Regions from separate parts of the Homo sapiens genome. Here region 1 is linked to region 2. Evidence: promoter capture Hi-C in 16 types of primary human blood cells and fetal thymus (Javierre and others, 2016). All regions are on one chromosome and are shown on one strand. Each heading gives the region's core, a stretch centred on a gene start or on the middle of the fragment in contact. The rest is flanking DNA. Distances are from core to core; before and after follow the strand shown. Region 1 overlaps AFG1L (AFG1 like ATPase). Region 2 holds the start of NR2E1 (nuclear receptor subfamily 2 group E member 1).

The links. Contacts are between HindIII fragments. The CHiCAGO score rates a contact against its expected background, and 5 or more counts as called.
Region 1: a contact is called between a fragment that was not itself captured here and the fragment with the promoter of NR2E1 in region 2, in 1 of 17 cell types (megakaryocytes). The highest score is 5.3, in megakaryocytes.

Annotation. Positions count from the first base shown.
Region 1 is chr6:108,361,741-108,369,481 of GRCh38, forward strand. AFG1L (AFG1 like ATPase) reads left to right here. Exons shown (of 13, transcript NM_145315.5): 6 at 4,493-4,592. Among named protein-coding and RNA genes, the nearest start is that of AFG1L, 71 kb to the left of the region's middle. RefSeq lists an enhancer at 3,635-4,177. The HindIII fragment of the contact is 1,049 bases long and covers 3,593-4,641 here.
Region 2 is chr6:108,159,657-108,167,321 of GRCh38, forward strand. NR2E1 (nuclear receptor subfamily 2 group E member 1) reads left to right here and starts at 6,366. Exons shown (of 9, transcript NM_003269.5): 1 at 6,366-7,134. The coding sequence starts at 7,110. RefSeq lists enhancers at 179-680, 3,606-4,507, 5,409-6,310, 7,211-7,665. The HindIII fragment of the contact is 9,879 bases long and covers 2,779-7,665 here.

The DNA.
Region 1 (7,741 bases), core at 2,867-5,366, 200 kb after region 2:
TTCATCATATCTTTGCTCAATTACCTCCTTAACAAGGCCCATCTTAACACCCTATTTGAAATTGCAGCTTACCGTTGACCCCCACACTTCTGGTGCCCCTTACCCACCTTTTTTCCCATATCATATATCACCTTTTAACATATTATATGTAATTTACTTATTTATTGTGTTTATTGTTTATCTGTATTCCCAGAATGTAAACTTGAAGGCATGAATCTTTATTAATTGATGTCTCAGGTTTCTAGGACAGTGTCTGAGAATGAATGAATAAGTAGTGAATAAATAAATGAATGAATGAATGAATCTAATACCAAATGAAAACTGTGGAAGTGGTTCCCATATTAAGTCCCACTCCCCTTACATATAATAGCATTTCTCAAGCAAAATCAGCATTTACAGAACCCAAGGTATATTATAACTTCAACCCACATTTTTTCCTGTCATCATTCTGAATTATCTGAACATTTTTGTCTAATTGAATACATAAAAAATGGTGTCTTGTTTTAATTTGTATTCCTTTAGGAAATAATATGGTTGATTTTTTTTCATGTTTGTTTACATGCTTGTTAAATCCATCTTTTATGAACTATTTGAGGTATTGCCCATTTATTTATTAGAATGCTTATATTCCATCTATTATATATGTTCTATAATATTAGTTACTGTTTATTGAGTGTTTTTCTATGTGCCTGTGTTCTTAATAACTGTATAATGCTAAATATAATTCTAGCTACAGCTAAAATTCTATGTAGCTATACATTAATAATACAGAATTATATTAATACTAGCATATATACCATACATAGGTAATAGTCAAAGTTAATGGTCTCTCATTTCTTGAGAGTTTACTTTATGTCTCATAACAATATTGCAAGGTAAGTATTATTACTGCTTTCGTTGCATTGATGAGGAAATTGAGGGTCAGAGAGGTTCAGTAACTTGACCAAGGTCACACAACTGGTAACTAACAGTTTAAGTCCAGCACTAATGCTCTTGTTTACCAGTAACAGCTATGCTATACATTTTCCTTAGTATATAAAGTCTTGTATTATGTGTTTAAATATACAATTCTAGAGCTGGGTGGGGTTTTGGTAGATGTTTTAGTGATGGAACCTAAAAATTATCCTTAAGCCTATTAAGCCTAGTACAATACTTGCTGATTTATTAAAAAAGAGTTTTTAAGGCACTTTATTCTTAGTGACAGTATATCTACAATCACCACTTCACTTTTAAAATGGAATCGTATTAGTAGCCTTGATTTTTAGCTAGTTATTATTGGCCTTTAGGTAGTGTTAATTAATATAATATTTATTTTACTAGGGAGACGAATGGTAATTATTGCTGCTTAAAAACATGGATATACTCCTTTTTTGTGCTCTTGAATTTAAGGAATTTTAAAGATTATGTTTTGGTAAGCATTCAGATTACACTTGCAGAATGCTCTTCATTAGTTTGGTCTTCCTTACTAAGTGTAGAATTTCAGCTTTTTTTAACTTTTAGTTTCAGGGGTGTGTGTGCAGGTTTGTTATATAGGTAAACATGTGTCACAAGAGTTTGCTGTACTGATTATTTCGTCACCCAGGTACTAAGTCTAGTAGCCAATAGTTCTTTTTTCTGCTCTTCCCCCTCCTCCCACCCTCTACACTCAAGTAGGCGCATTTCAGTTTTACCTGAGGTGTTAGATACACGATTCTTACCTTGGTTGAGAAATGTGTTTGGATAGTTTTTTTTTGTTTGTTTTTTGTTTTTAACATGTGTTTTGGTTGGTGAAATAAATAATAGCTTATCTTCAGAGTTTTCCTTAGGATCTTCATTATGTCCTCTTGGAATATTTATGTTACATGTTAAACTGTTTATGATTCTGAAGACATCAGATTAGTGAGGAAAACTGATTTTTAAAAATGTTATTTCTTCATATCTCTTCTGAGAGGGACACTAAATAGATGTTTTACTAATATGGGTCCAGAAAAAAAAAAAAGAATTCTGATGAGCAGAAGATCATGCAAAATTCTCCTCTATCAGCTATCAATATCATTTAAAAAATAGGTTTAACCATTTTTATGAAGCAGGAAGAAAGCTATTAAAAACTGCTAATAAAAAATAGGTGCTTATTTTTGTGCTAATCCTAATTACTGATAATGCATGCTTATGTTTGTCACTCATTATATGGCACTGTACCAATCAGTGGATGACTGAGACTCAAGCACTCACACATGTAAATTAACCATTAGATTTTTTTTCTTTTTTACTTAAGTGAGTCATAATGGAAAGCAACTCTAGGTTATAAAAAAATCTTTTCTCTTTAATGCTAATGAAATGTCTCCACTCTCTGTATTAGCAGACTACCCTTATTGGTAATCTGTAGCCTTCTCTTTTGTTCGTGGTGGTAATGAAATGCTGGGTACTGAAAAAGCCAGCTCTCCAAGAATGTGTGGCCAATTGTCTTCTGTTCACTTATACTGTAAAATTACCGTTCCCCGGCAAGGCCGAACAAGTGCGGGGACAAGATCAAAAGAGTATACATTGGCACCCGGCTACAGCAAGTGACTCCTGCTTTATTAATTAGTCATAGCTTCTCCAAGCTAATTTACTCTGATAGGGCAAAAACATTCTGAAATATAAAAACAGCAAATTATAACTCAACTACAAGCCTTTACTGTTTGCTTTCTTCAACTTTCAGTTTAAACCTTTGCATTATGTTACAAGCTAAATGTCCCTTCAGTTTTCTAAACCTTAGGGCACAAAAGCTATTTTACATTTTTTTCAAAGACATTAATCATACAGTCAAATGACCATTTTTATTCTCTAAAATCGGGTAAACTTTCATTGATACTGTTCTTTTAAAAAGTCAGTGTATTGGCAATGTAATTTAAAAGTGCAGTTGCTATTAAAATGTGCAAGCTCGTTCTGTCCTCTCATCAGAAATGCCACTGGTGTTCAAGCATTTGAAAAGGACTTTCTCTGTCAGTGTTTTTGCGGAAGCCAAATTTGACAGTGATCCTAAACTCCAAATTAAATAATATCAGCACCACTTTCCTTTTCATTTAATCACCATTTTGAAGTTCCTGAAGTCTTTTTAATGTAAGGAATCTTTAGCAGTTTTTTAGTTATAACCTGAGACAGCCAAAAAAAAAAAAAAAAAAAAAGTACATCTCTATTTCATGGTTTTGTTGTTTTCAGGTGGGAAAGAAGATATTAGCTGTAAAAAGAAAAGTGATTTAGACCTGTGCAACCCAGGTTATTGTTAATTGCATTATAACCATTCGGTTTGTAACTTTTAGTATTTTGATTTAATTGAAAGAATTCACCAATTTTTATGTCCTCTAATGGGGTTTAAAAATAACAATGTACTATATCTTGTGGATATATGTAAAGCAAGTTGTACTGAGATTATTTGAAATGTGCTATCAAAGAAAGATCAAAACATTTTTACATTGGGAGTATCTAAAGTCCATGTTATTATATACTTAGGGGAAGTTGCAATGATTGATGTCAATCTTCATTACACATTTATTTTTGGAGTCAACTTCTTTCCCTTCTTAATTGTTGTCTTTGTGAATTTTAAAAGCCTTTAGAAAAAGTTACATCATTAAGCTTACTTCGTAATTGTGAATTTAAAAAATAATTTTAGAAAAGATCAATAAACCTAACTTGGATGGAATAGTTTCATCTGTATTATGCATTTCTTGTATTGTCACAAGTTATTTTTTTAAGGGACTATATTAGCCATTCTTGAAAGGTGGTTTTTTTTGTTTTTTTTTTTTTTGGTAGAAGGAATATTTGTGTTTGTGAAGGTTAGCAGAGGCTGGCTGTGCTGGAAGTGACTGCAGTGCCTTTTGATTATTCATGGACAGTAATAGAAGGCACTTAAAAAGAACAATGAAATTGCTTATTTTTGTGATGGGCCATCTGTTGAATTGTTTTGTGCAACAATTGCACAATAGTATCTATGTCATATCATTCTATTTTCAACAGCAGCTGATTATGTCTCACTGGCTACTTGTCCTTATTTCTAAAGGCCCATGACCATTTAAAGTCACCTTTCCAGGGACCTTTGCCAGAAAGGTATTAGAAATCTCAAACAGCCTGTGTATTTTATTATTATTATTTTTTCATCTCTCTTTTTTGAGGGGGTGTGGGAAGCGGGTGGGAAGAGGAGGAGGGTGTTGGTCATGTTAGTTCTAATTAATTAGACTTCCTAAATGTTTAGGACAATTATCTATGCTTTCCACCTGTAGTTCTATAAAAGAAGTTATCATAGAACCATTTGGTAATTTGTGTAGAAATGATAGGCTTGCAAAAAAGAAGAGTCAAGTTTAAAAGACTGCTATACAGTGTTTCATGCTTTTAATTATCTACTCTTTTCTTCATGATGATAATTAGAATTTTTCTCTTGGAATTTACTTCCATCTTAAAAAAAAAGATGATCCACTAGCAAATTTGTTACAGCAGAAGTGAAATTAAAATAAAACAAATGTGTTGTTGTCAATAGGTCACTGACATTGCTGATGCCATGATTCTGAAACAGCTTTTTGAAAATCTGTTCAAAAACGGGGTCGTCGTTGTGGCAACATCCAACAGGCCACCGGAAGGTAAAAACAAACATTGTGCTAGTCTCATCCAATTAGGTGGAAACTAACAAGCTTTTAAAAATCCATAATTTTGAACTAAATGTATTGTGTTAATAAATCTGATGACTTTGCTTATTATTAGTTTTATAACTGGCTTAATCTGAAAAATCAGTTGGTATTTGCATTTGAAAAGTTTTGTATCCTTAGCAAGCTAAATCCAGTTGATTCCCATGTTTGGTGCACTTGCTGTTTTTTTGTTTTTTTTTTTCCCTAAATATTAGATATGTCATATGTGCTTAGCAAAAAATGCAGGCCTTTTGGACTGCTTTTTATGGCCCATAAAAGAAACTCAACCAAATGAAAGACGAAACTCATAATTAAATTTTAGAAAAAGACCGAAAACTTGCTTGCATGAATAGTTTCTAATACTTCACTTAAATTATCATTTCTAAAAAAGCACTTGTGGCTTATTAGGAAAGTACTTAAAAATTAAAATACAAGTAATATTTAGATTAAAAACAACAACTTTAAAATCTTGCATCTTTCAGCCCATCACGTGCTCAGTTAAAGGTCTAAGAAACCACAAATATTTCATGAGAGACTTAATGGGAACATCTTTCTGCCTGGAGTGCTGTTTCTCCAGATATCTGCATGGCTAAGCCCTCACCTCCTTTGTCTTTGCTCAGAAGTTACATTGCCAGTGAAGCCTAGACTTGTCTCCCTGTTTGAACCTGCAACACATCCCTTTCTTCTTGGTGCTGCTTCCCTTTACCCTGCTCTCTCTTTTACCCATAGCACTATGGACCTACCATATAATTTACTTATTTATTATATTTATAGTTTATTGTCTGTTCCCTTCCAGGATACAAAAGCTTCATGAGGGCAGTGATTTTTATCTCTCCTGTTCTCAGATGTGTTCTCAGCACCTATAACAGTGTCTTACACATAGATGGTTCTCAGTAAATAGTCTTAGAATGAACATTGGATGATTGCATGTTTTAAAAAGATCTCTCTGGCTGCAGTGTTGAGAATAGAGTGTGGGTATGGGGTTTCAGGGTTAGAAGTAAGGAGACCTTTTAGGAGACTACTGCAGCAATCCCAAGGGGAGGGGAGGTGATGGAGCAGTAAAGTGGTGAGAAGAGGGCAGGTTCTGGATGTACTATATAGGCAGAGTCAGCAGGATTTACTGATGGAATGGAGCTAGAGTATGAAAAAAGAGAGAGGGATCAAGAGTAACTCAAAGGTTTTGGCCTGAGCAATTGGAAGGATAAAGTTGCTGTTTACTGAGATGGGGAAGACTACAGAAAAAGCAGATTTGGTTAGGGAGGTGGAGGTAGGGGTTTCTGTGGTGACAAGGGGGATACATATAAGAGTTTGGACTTCATTGGAAAAGTCTGGGCTGGAGATATACATTTGGAAGTTATCAGTCCTCAAGGAGGCAGGAAAGAGCAGCTGGTGAGGTAGGAGGAGAACCAGGAGAGTGTCAAGTGAGGAAAAGAAAAGTAGTACAAAAAGAATTGATGATTACTTCTGTTAAGTGCTGCTACAAGCTGAAAATGAGGTTGAGAATTAACCATTGCAATTAGTAACATGGAATTCATTAGTGAGTCTGAAAAGAGTAATGCCATAGTGGGAACTTTTTTTTTAAAGTAAGCTATGCCACATTGATGGTGTATATTGAATTTTAAATTGCTAACAGACCCAGATCTTACTATGTAGCCTGCTGTGAAACTAGGTCTCTCTCATTCTATGTTTGTGTAGTGGATTTCTTTTTCTTCTATTACATTTCAGCTTATTAGTCTTATGTTGTTCCATTTTATTGATTTTTATTGAAGTATTTTTTATTTTTATTTTTGTTTTTTGTTTTTATTTATTTATTTTTGTTTTGCAAATGGAGTATGTTTGAAGTATTTTTGAAGTATGATTCTAATATAATTTTTTTTTGGCTATCCCTACTATGACATTTATACATTTGATAATCATATTTCTATGTCTTTAGCCATTCCTTAATTAAAATGTGTAAATCAGATAGGACTAAATTAAGTTACTTGTTGCATACCACTGGAGGCCTTATCTTAGGAAGACATCAATTAACTAATCAACACCTTTTGGATCCAGTTATTCAAACAATTATAGTCATACCTCATCCATTGTACTACAAAAGAATTATGAGTGATTTTGCAGATGTACTTATTAAAATCCATATAATGTTATATACAGCATTCTTGTGATTAACTAGTGTTAGCCACCCTATGAGCCAAGGGAGTGAGCTTTTTAATATTAGATCTTCTATCTAGGTGGAAGTGAAACTTGTCTCTACTACAGCTGATGTGTTGATTTGACAGTGGCATCAGTATTACCTTTAGACATTCAGTGACAAGCTATGCTCGTAAATAGCAAAGAGCTAGAACAATTTTGGAAGCCCTTTAGCAAAGACTGCTGAAAGGATAATTAGGCTGCTCAGACTATGGCAGTGTGGTTAACTAACTGAGGAAGGACAGCCACCAGGAGGGATTAAGGAATGTTTTGCAGCTCCTAGCTTTGTAGGAGTGAACAAAGCTACCGGTGTGTCAGGGTAGCCTGCAGAAATCTGAGCTGGAGCCACCCTTCTGGAGAAGACTGTAAGTTCAAGATGCGGAATTGCAAAAATTGGACAAACTTAGAGAAAGCCTTTTCTAAATATAAACAGTGGAAGGAATGGGATGCTTGTCACAGACCAGGTTTTTTAGCCACAGCAGACAATCATCATAAATAACTTAATATTTTAAAGTAATGAAGATGACATGTATATGTGTGCGTGTGTGTGTGTATAATTTTATTTGTGGAGAAAAAGACTCAGAGAGACTAAGCATATCAGGAAGAGGTAAAACTGTAAGACGAAGAATGAAGCAGTGATTGCCAAGGTCCAGGGTGAGGAGGTGTTTGACTACAAAGGGGCAGGCTCAGGATGCAACTGCTGCATCCAGATTGTAGTGGTGGTTACATGTGCTAAAAACTCATAGAACCGTAGGCCAAAAAAGTTACATATTATAAGTAAATTAAAAACAAATGACATGGATAGTGAATGACAGAACAAAGACTAGAACTTAGGTTTTGTGACTCTTTTTACACATTGTTTTCTATCTTTTTGCCTTATGGTCATCACTGATCTCTGTCTATCCTGTCCTAGA
Region 2 (7,665 bases), core at 5,116-7,615:
GGGATACAGATATGTACAATTATGAATACTTGGGTAATTACACATTGTAACTAACTATTAATGCATGGACTAAAATCAAATTACCTCCACTGTTTTCATTGTTATTTAGTACTTAACAAGTATCCACTTGGCACTAAAAGATGGTCAAAATATATCAAACAATGTCAGCCTTCCAAAAAGGTATCAAAATACTTATATCCTAGATAGATACACATATGTTGTATGTAGTGCATGTTGGTGTTTCAAATATCTCATTATTTAATGTCCTGATCTGATAGAAATGTTAGATTTCAAATCACTGTTTCACCTATCCCAACAGTTACACCTGAAATTTTAGAGGCTAAGGAGAAATGTCTGCAACCTACCTCCTCAGTTGTGAACTCCTGTACCTGAAAGGCCAAATCCTCCTCCTCCCAGCAGGCAATCATCTTATGCCCTGAAGCATGAGATCTGATTACCCCTATCATCATCTTAGCTTGCATAGATACAGATGTTATTAACGGCTGTAGTTTATCCAACCCTTTTTTAAAACGCAGCTGCAGCATTTGACTTGGGGACCTCCTGTGAATCCCACTGGTTGACTCCGTCTTGCACAAAGCACGTGGGGTTTGGGGGAGGGAGAAGAGAGAGGGAGGTTTGTTTTGTTTTGGAGGGTTTTTTTTTTTTTTTTTTGAATCAGAGTTCCCTAAATAGCCACTCGGCATCTTTGTAAGTGATGTGAATTCTGAAATTACTTACTAGAATAGGACAACAGAGTACTGTGTGAACTAGATCTGTTGGAAACAAAGCATAGTAGAATGTATGATGCTTTTCACTTCATTGGCAGAGATCAAATATGTGGTCCTGATATACTCATCCACATAATAAAGAATTGTAGCTTATTCTGAAATATATTGGCCACATTCAAACTGGAGTACCTGGTTTTACATAACAATTGTTTCTACAAGTGTTGAAACAGTAATCTGGATAAAGTAGGTCCTAAAGCTGCTGTGAAGGGAAGACAGGGACGTTTTTAAAATCTGAAAGGCCTAGATTGGCAATCCAGGCAGATCAAATTCAGCGATTAATTGGTCAATCTAATCATTGCCTTTTTCTCAGCATCTATGATTTGTGTCTCTAAGTATTGCTCCTGTAGGTCATATCATCCCTTCTATAAAACAGAGAGGACACCTCACAGGTTTCCTATACCTTGGAACACAGCAAATTTTAAGTACTGGCAGAAAGGGAATTTAGAAAAAAACCCTGTGAAGTAAAGGAGGCTGACGTTGCACAAATACTGAACTATAGTTTCAAGATGCACAAAACACTGTTCTTAATTCTAATTACTTCACTAGTAAGTAAGTGAAATTGCTTTAATTGGAGCTTCTAGAAGCCCTTCTGGGAAATGAGAGGTAGCTGGATGCAGTAGAATGCAGTGGAATGAGTATTTCAAAGAGCACTGGACTCAGCATCAGGAGATATGGGTTCTGGGGATGATCTCTGTCTCTCAGTGAGTAAGCAAGGACAAGTTGTCTCTAAGGTTCTCACTTTCCTCATCTATAAAATGACTACATTAGAGGAGTGCCTTGTAACTTATGTGCTCTGTGATTCCACGCTAAATGGAAGCCAAGTTAGACTGTGTAATTCACAGGAAATTAGGAGGCTGAAGAAAGCTTGGCAGCCAGTATCTCCCTGGATGTAGTCTGTGTTCTGCTTTCTTGTTTCTCTAGTCATTCTTTTGTTTTCAGAAAGCCAAAAATGACCTGCACTGCTTCCCAAGGTTTGGAGATTCAGAGGACCTGTCCCTGTTCCCTTCCTACCCCATTGCTGGGGCTGAGCAAAAATGAGCCCTTCACCTCAAGCTTCAGTAGCTTTCATTGAGTATCATCAGGCAGGTTCACTCATACATTCCACATTTACAAAGCACCACTATGTGCCAGGGTGCAAGGGACTAGAAAGATGTTTCTACTTGATTATTCTTGGAGCCAGAGAATGTCAAGATGCAGCGGGACTCTAGAAGCCTCGGAGTCTCAGCCTGACTTTAGAACTGAATTTTTGTCCAACCAAGGGTGTGAATAAATGCAAAGACATGACTTGTTATTTGTTAAGGTTGTGGGGTGAGGGGGGTGGTCACACAGAGCATTGTCTCCTTGTTGTTAGCAGCGTTCATCTTCCTACTTGTGGGGAGTAACAGACTACTTTTGGCAATACAGTGCTCAAAAGTGTCAAGAAAAACCCTGCAACTCAGGACCCACTGGATTCTAGAGAACAAGCGTCTCTTTTCTGGATTGTTCTTGTTTATTTGGGGGGTAAATTTGGATAAGAATCAAACAACTTGTAGAGAGATCCACAGCAGAATCAAGAGCAAGCCTGCAAACACTGTTTCTTTCATTTGGCACTTAGCAAGCACCTACTATGTGCCAGACACTGCTCCATGACCCACCTCCTCTCTCACCATCCACTGGGCAAACAACAGCCATAGGTTGAATTATGATGTGGAAGCAAATGCAAATCAACTTCCTCCTTCATATAAACAAACAAACAAACAAACAAACAAAAACTTGTGTCAGAATGTTTTTGGATACTAAACATCAAAACTCAGCCAAGCTCAGCTGGTAGGTTTTCCCAGCGATTTCCTTGGTCTGAGCATCTCTTAACTCTGCATATCGGTAAGGGGAATGGTATTTTAAAGGAGTGACTCTCTAGAGGTTGAATGGCCTCTGTGAGGGGTCGATCACAGGGGATTGGGGAAGGGGTCTCTTTAACACCAATTCCATCAGCTCTGCTAGCTGATGGGAAAGCTTGTCCTTTCACCTTCGGTATTTTAATTTAGAAGAATGTGTGTGTGTGGAGGGGGTGTTAATGGAAAAAATGTCACCGTTTTTAGAGAAGCTAGTGAATGGCAGGGCTAGCAGTCAACCTCAGATAGTCTGAAACTTTGAGGGGTGCTCTGTACCCCTGCCTCTCTCATACAACCTAGTTAATAGGATTCTCTTTAACAGGGCACTAGCAGAGGAATGAGCTATAATACAATACAGTCCTCAGAGGACTGTAGAATCAGTAGATTCTCCTAACACAAGGCCAGCTTTCCAGGGCAATTCTGGACAGCCTATGTCACCGCACACTGGTTTAGGGCTCCTTGTATATATCTCCAGTGTCCTGTGTTTCATCCCAATCTAAAACATTTATCATCTTTTATGTGTCTGCTCCCTGCTACATGGAGAAAGGAGTCATGTCATTAATCTGCTATATCCCCAGGGTCTGGCATATAGTGGGTGCTCAGTATTTGATGAGTGGGTAGATTGATGGATGGGCAGAAATACCCCTTGATCCATGGTCCTCTCATGATCTTATTTCCTATCTCTTGGACCAAAATGTAAACATCCTTCGATAAAAGAACCTTCCCTGCGTTTTAGGCTTTGGTTTTGGTTGAGAGCTCCATACTCACAAGCGCCTACAGAGGAAATTAGGGGCTATGTCTGAACCTGTTTAGAAGGGTTTCAGAACCTCTGAGGGTGTGGCTATCCCCACCACCTTCCAAAGCAATAAACTTATCCTTGTAACTTAAGGTCTTGTCTCTGTTAAAAGATAATTCTGAGCCAGATGGCATTTGCCCCTTATCAATCATTTCCTTTAATGGACTCACAGGAAAAAATCTTTGAAAGTTAAGACCGAACAGGGTGAGAATCCTTTTACAAATAACAATCTGGAACCCAGAGAGGTCTAGCCACTCGCCTAAGGTCACACAGCTTGTTGGCACAGCCCTGAATCCCTATCTCGTGGTTTCCAGCGTTTAGCCTGGCTGTGCCTCCAGTGGCCCCTCAGGGCATCTGCAGGTGACTTCCCTTCATTTGCCCAACATTTATGCAGCACCTACTATGAATCAGGCAGCATGCTGGGGCCTGTGGATAGAAAGATGAAGAGCCATAGTCTTTGTCCTGCAAAGGCTTTCTTCTCTGAGCTGTACCCATGGTAGCCCCAAGTTTCTACGCCTTAAATCCGAGGTCCCCCGTGGCCTGCAGCAGCTTTGCCTGAGTAGAAGGCAGCCCGCACTAAGGCTCCAGGCTTATTTGGGACCTGGTGGGCGACGGGGCCTCAGCCCCTCCCGCCTACCCTGGAGCTTGTTGCCGCCGTTACCACTGAACCAGTCATGCCAGAAAGTCATCACGATGATTTCAGAACTGTATTGTGATTTATGCAAAGCGCGCCGATAATTACAGCCGGGCGCACAGAACACAGGATGCATATGCTGCGGGTGTGTGCGCGCAGTGTTGTGCCTTTCGCCAGGGCTGAATGGGGTGTGTGTGTATTCCGTAGGCATCTTCTTGACACCATGCTTGATCGGGGACTGGTGACAGGAAAAAGAGGGAAGATACCCATTTTGATTTTGAGACAATTTGATGAGCCTTGGGAGTATTTTCCAGAAGTTTTGGTGCCTACAAATGAGCCAGCCTGGCAGGAGCGTTCGAGAGTAGGGGAAGAGGTGGTTTGGAGCCCAGGAAAGCCATCGTCCAGCCCCCGCACAGGCAAAGCAATTAGTAGTTCTCCTTCTCGAAACAGACCCCTAAATGCTTCCCCTGCAGACAGGCCTGGGTCTAGTCATCACCCCCCACACTGCCCTCATCTTCGCCCCAGATAAATTAGTTCCACCCTTGAAGTTCTTTGTCCTGAACCAAAGAACCCCATAATCGCGTCCGCGTTATGGGGGTGGTGGTGGTAGGTGGCTGAAGCAAGTGGATTTCTGGCGTGAACCAGAACCTGAGGATTCCAAACGGAGCCTGGCATCTTATTGTGTTTCTCAAATCCTGCCCGAAATTCCTCCCCTCTCTGGGCGCCGAGTTCGAGAAAGCGCTACGCCGCCGGTCGGGCTAGCTCCACAAGCGGCTGTACAAGTTGGCTGTCAAAAAACGCTGATTTCTCCTCCTGTCACCTAATAAACCCCTACGCGCTTATGGCCTCGTCCCACAATCCCCCAATCTCGTCCCAATTCGAAAAACCGAGGAGGAGGGAATAAACTGAGAGATAAAGATCCCCCCATCTTGCTCTTTCCCCGGGACCCCAGCCTTGGTCGCGGCGCCCCACTAAGGAGGACACAGGCTCTGGTGTGTGTGGTGTGCGAGACCCCGAGCTCGAGGCCGAGCCAAGGCTGGGCAGAAAGTTGCAATCACGTGCTGTCGGAGCCCACTGGAGCGCACAGCCCGCTCCCCCTGGGACGCCCAGGCGGAGGACCTGCTGCGCCCTCCCAGGGCTCGGGGGACTCCAGCATTCACTTGCACGCACAGGCGAACTCTGATTGAAAGCCCGGGATGACACCGAGTCTGGAGAAAGAGGGACCGGGGGGTGGGCTGGCGGAATTGCAGAGCGCCGGCCACAGCTCCCCTCCCCGCGAACGTCGAGCGGAGGGCGGGAGGTGTAACCTCTGACCTCTGGCCGGGTCCACGCCCTGAGGAGGGACTGGCAAGCTCTTGTTCGACAAGTTCAAGCTGCCGAGAGAGCTTAAATAGAATTAATCTCTTAGAGATCGGGGATCATCGCTCCCTCGGCATGCGCTCTCCCAGCGCCGCGCACAGAGCAAGGCGCGAGAGAGCTCAGGAATCGCGGGAAGGCAAGCGGAATGGGGAGGGGGTAGGGGATGAGGGCCTCTCTTCACTATTCCTCCGCCCGGAGAGCGGGAGCCCGCAACGCCCGCCGAGGACGAGCGGCGGGAGGGAACGCTCTGCCCTCCAGCCGCCCCGGTGCAGATAATGGAGGCGACAAGAGATTCGCTCAGCGTCGGATGGGCCAGCTCTGCTTGGGGAAGCTGGCGGCATCCTCCCCTCGGCTGGTGCCCAAACCCACTGCGCGAAGGCCGAAGGAACGCGGAACCTCCAGAAGACCCCATCCTCAGCCCTGACTTTCCGTAGATATGTGCAAAATGAGTAAATTACTCACCTCGGGCCAGATCCAAGTTTTACCCAACAGAAGGGGCACCGGACCAAGAATGAACCAACTCACATGGCCATGTCCGGCGCGCACAATCACACGCCAGCACACAGCCACCCAATTTCTTCCGCGAATCTATCTGGCACTCTGGAGAGAGGGGGAAAAGCGTTTTGAGAAAGCCCCGTCACCCCTCCCCTTCCTTCTTGCCGTGAAATATACGAATTCATTTTTATTACGAGCCGCACCGTCCTCACCATCACGCACGCACAGAGCCACACTCCCATATTCACACTTTCTAACTCGTAAGCTCCGACAGCGCCTGCATTTTCTTTGGGAGCCGCTTGGAGGTTCATTAATATCATTAGCATTTAACCCCCTCCCTCTTCCCATCCCCTCCCCGCACATGGCTGACGTCAGACCCCGCCAGGAGTTGGGGGAAAAGCTAAGTGGGCCAGGGACGCCCTATTCCCCTCCCCGCGGCTGCCTGTCAGAGCGCTTCTGGAGATATTACAGGGGACCCAGCCCGCAGCGACAGGCACAAAGTCACGGGGTAATGAACTTCGGGGACCCTTCGCCGCTGCGTGCGCGGCTCTCCCCGGAAACCCGGACCTGGCCGCCTCTTCCCTCGGAAGATTTCCCAGCAATCTAGTTTTCCCACTCTGCGCTTGGGTTCCGGCAGCGCGGAGCCCGTCTGCCTCTGAGACTGCGGTAGTGTTTTCCTTCTTTCCTTGGGAGACCAGCGGTCGGCAGAGATTGCCCACACTCTGCATGCCTATGTAGAGGGAGAGATCGAAGACTGAGTGACAGGAATGGGGAAAAAGAGGGATTTCGCTCCGTAGGAAGGCCATTTTCGTGTCTCCATCTCTGTCTTTCAACATCCCTCTCTTGCTGTTCTTCCTTCTTCCTCAGTCTTCCTGTCCATCTCTCCATCTGTCTGTCCATGTGTGTGTCCATATCAAGCAGCATTCCCAGCAGCTGCGGTTTTGCAAGAGCCGGGAAGAAACTTAAGGATGCTTAAATTTCCACTGTTGGACGAATTCTGAGCGCCCAGGGAGCAGCGCAGCGCGCGACTGACACCCACCTGTCCCGCCCAGGAGCCTTGCAGGCTGGAGGGCAGCTGGAGAGCGGCGGCGCCCGGCGGCGAGGCGGGCGCTGCCGGCCGGGACTCGGGCAGCGCCCACCAACCGCTCCGCCCCGGGACAGCCAGCATGAGCAAGCCAGCCGGATCAACAAGTGGGTACCTCTCGGGCCGCCGTGGGGCCTAGGCGCGCAGCCTGGGGCGAGCGAGCGGGGAGGCTGGGGGAGGTCCTGCCTGGAGCGCTGCGAATCTGAGCCCCTGAGAGGGATTCCAGCGGGCGTGTGCGTTCGGCCCAGACCTGTAGACCGTGAGTTGGAGCATTTCGTGGAGAGGGGAGAGCCGTTTCGTTGCCTCTGGATTGCTTGATCCCCCCTGTCTGGTGCGGTGAGAAGGTTACGACCCGCGCAGCCCACCAGTCGGATGAGTTGTCTCCATTTAGCCGCCAGGTGCTGGATGGGGGGGCCATGGGGGCGGGAACTGGGCCGCAGCTCCAGGCGGTAGCACAATAACACACTCGCTCAAAACTCCGAGCTCCAGCGCGCAAAAGCAACTCTGTGCAAAGCGGATTTTGAATGGAATGCTTTGCACCCCGTTTCTAGCTATTTCAAATAATCCTGCAAACTGGGAAGCAGAAACAATTTAAAAGTCACATTTTCCTTAATCCTAAATCCGCGTAGGTCATAACT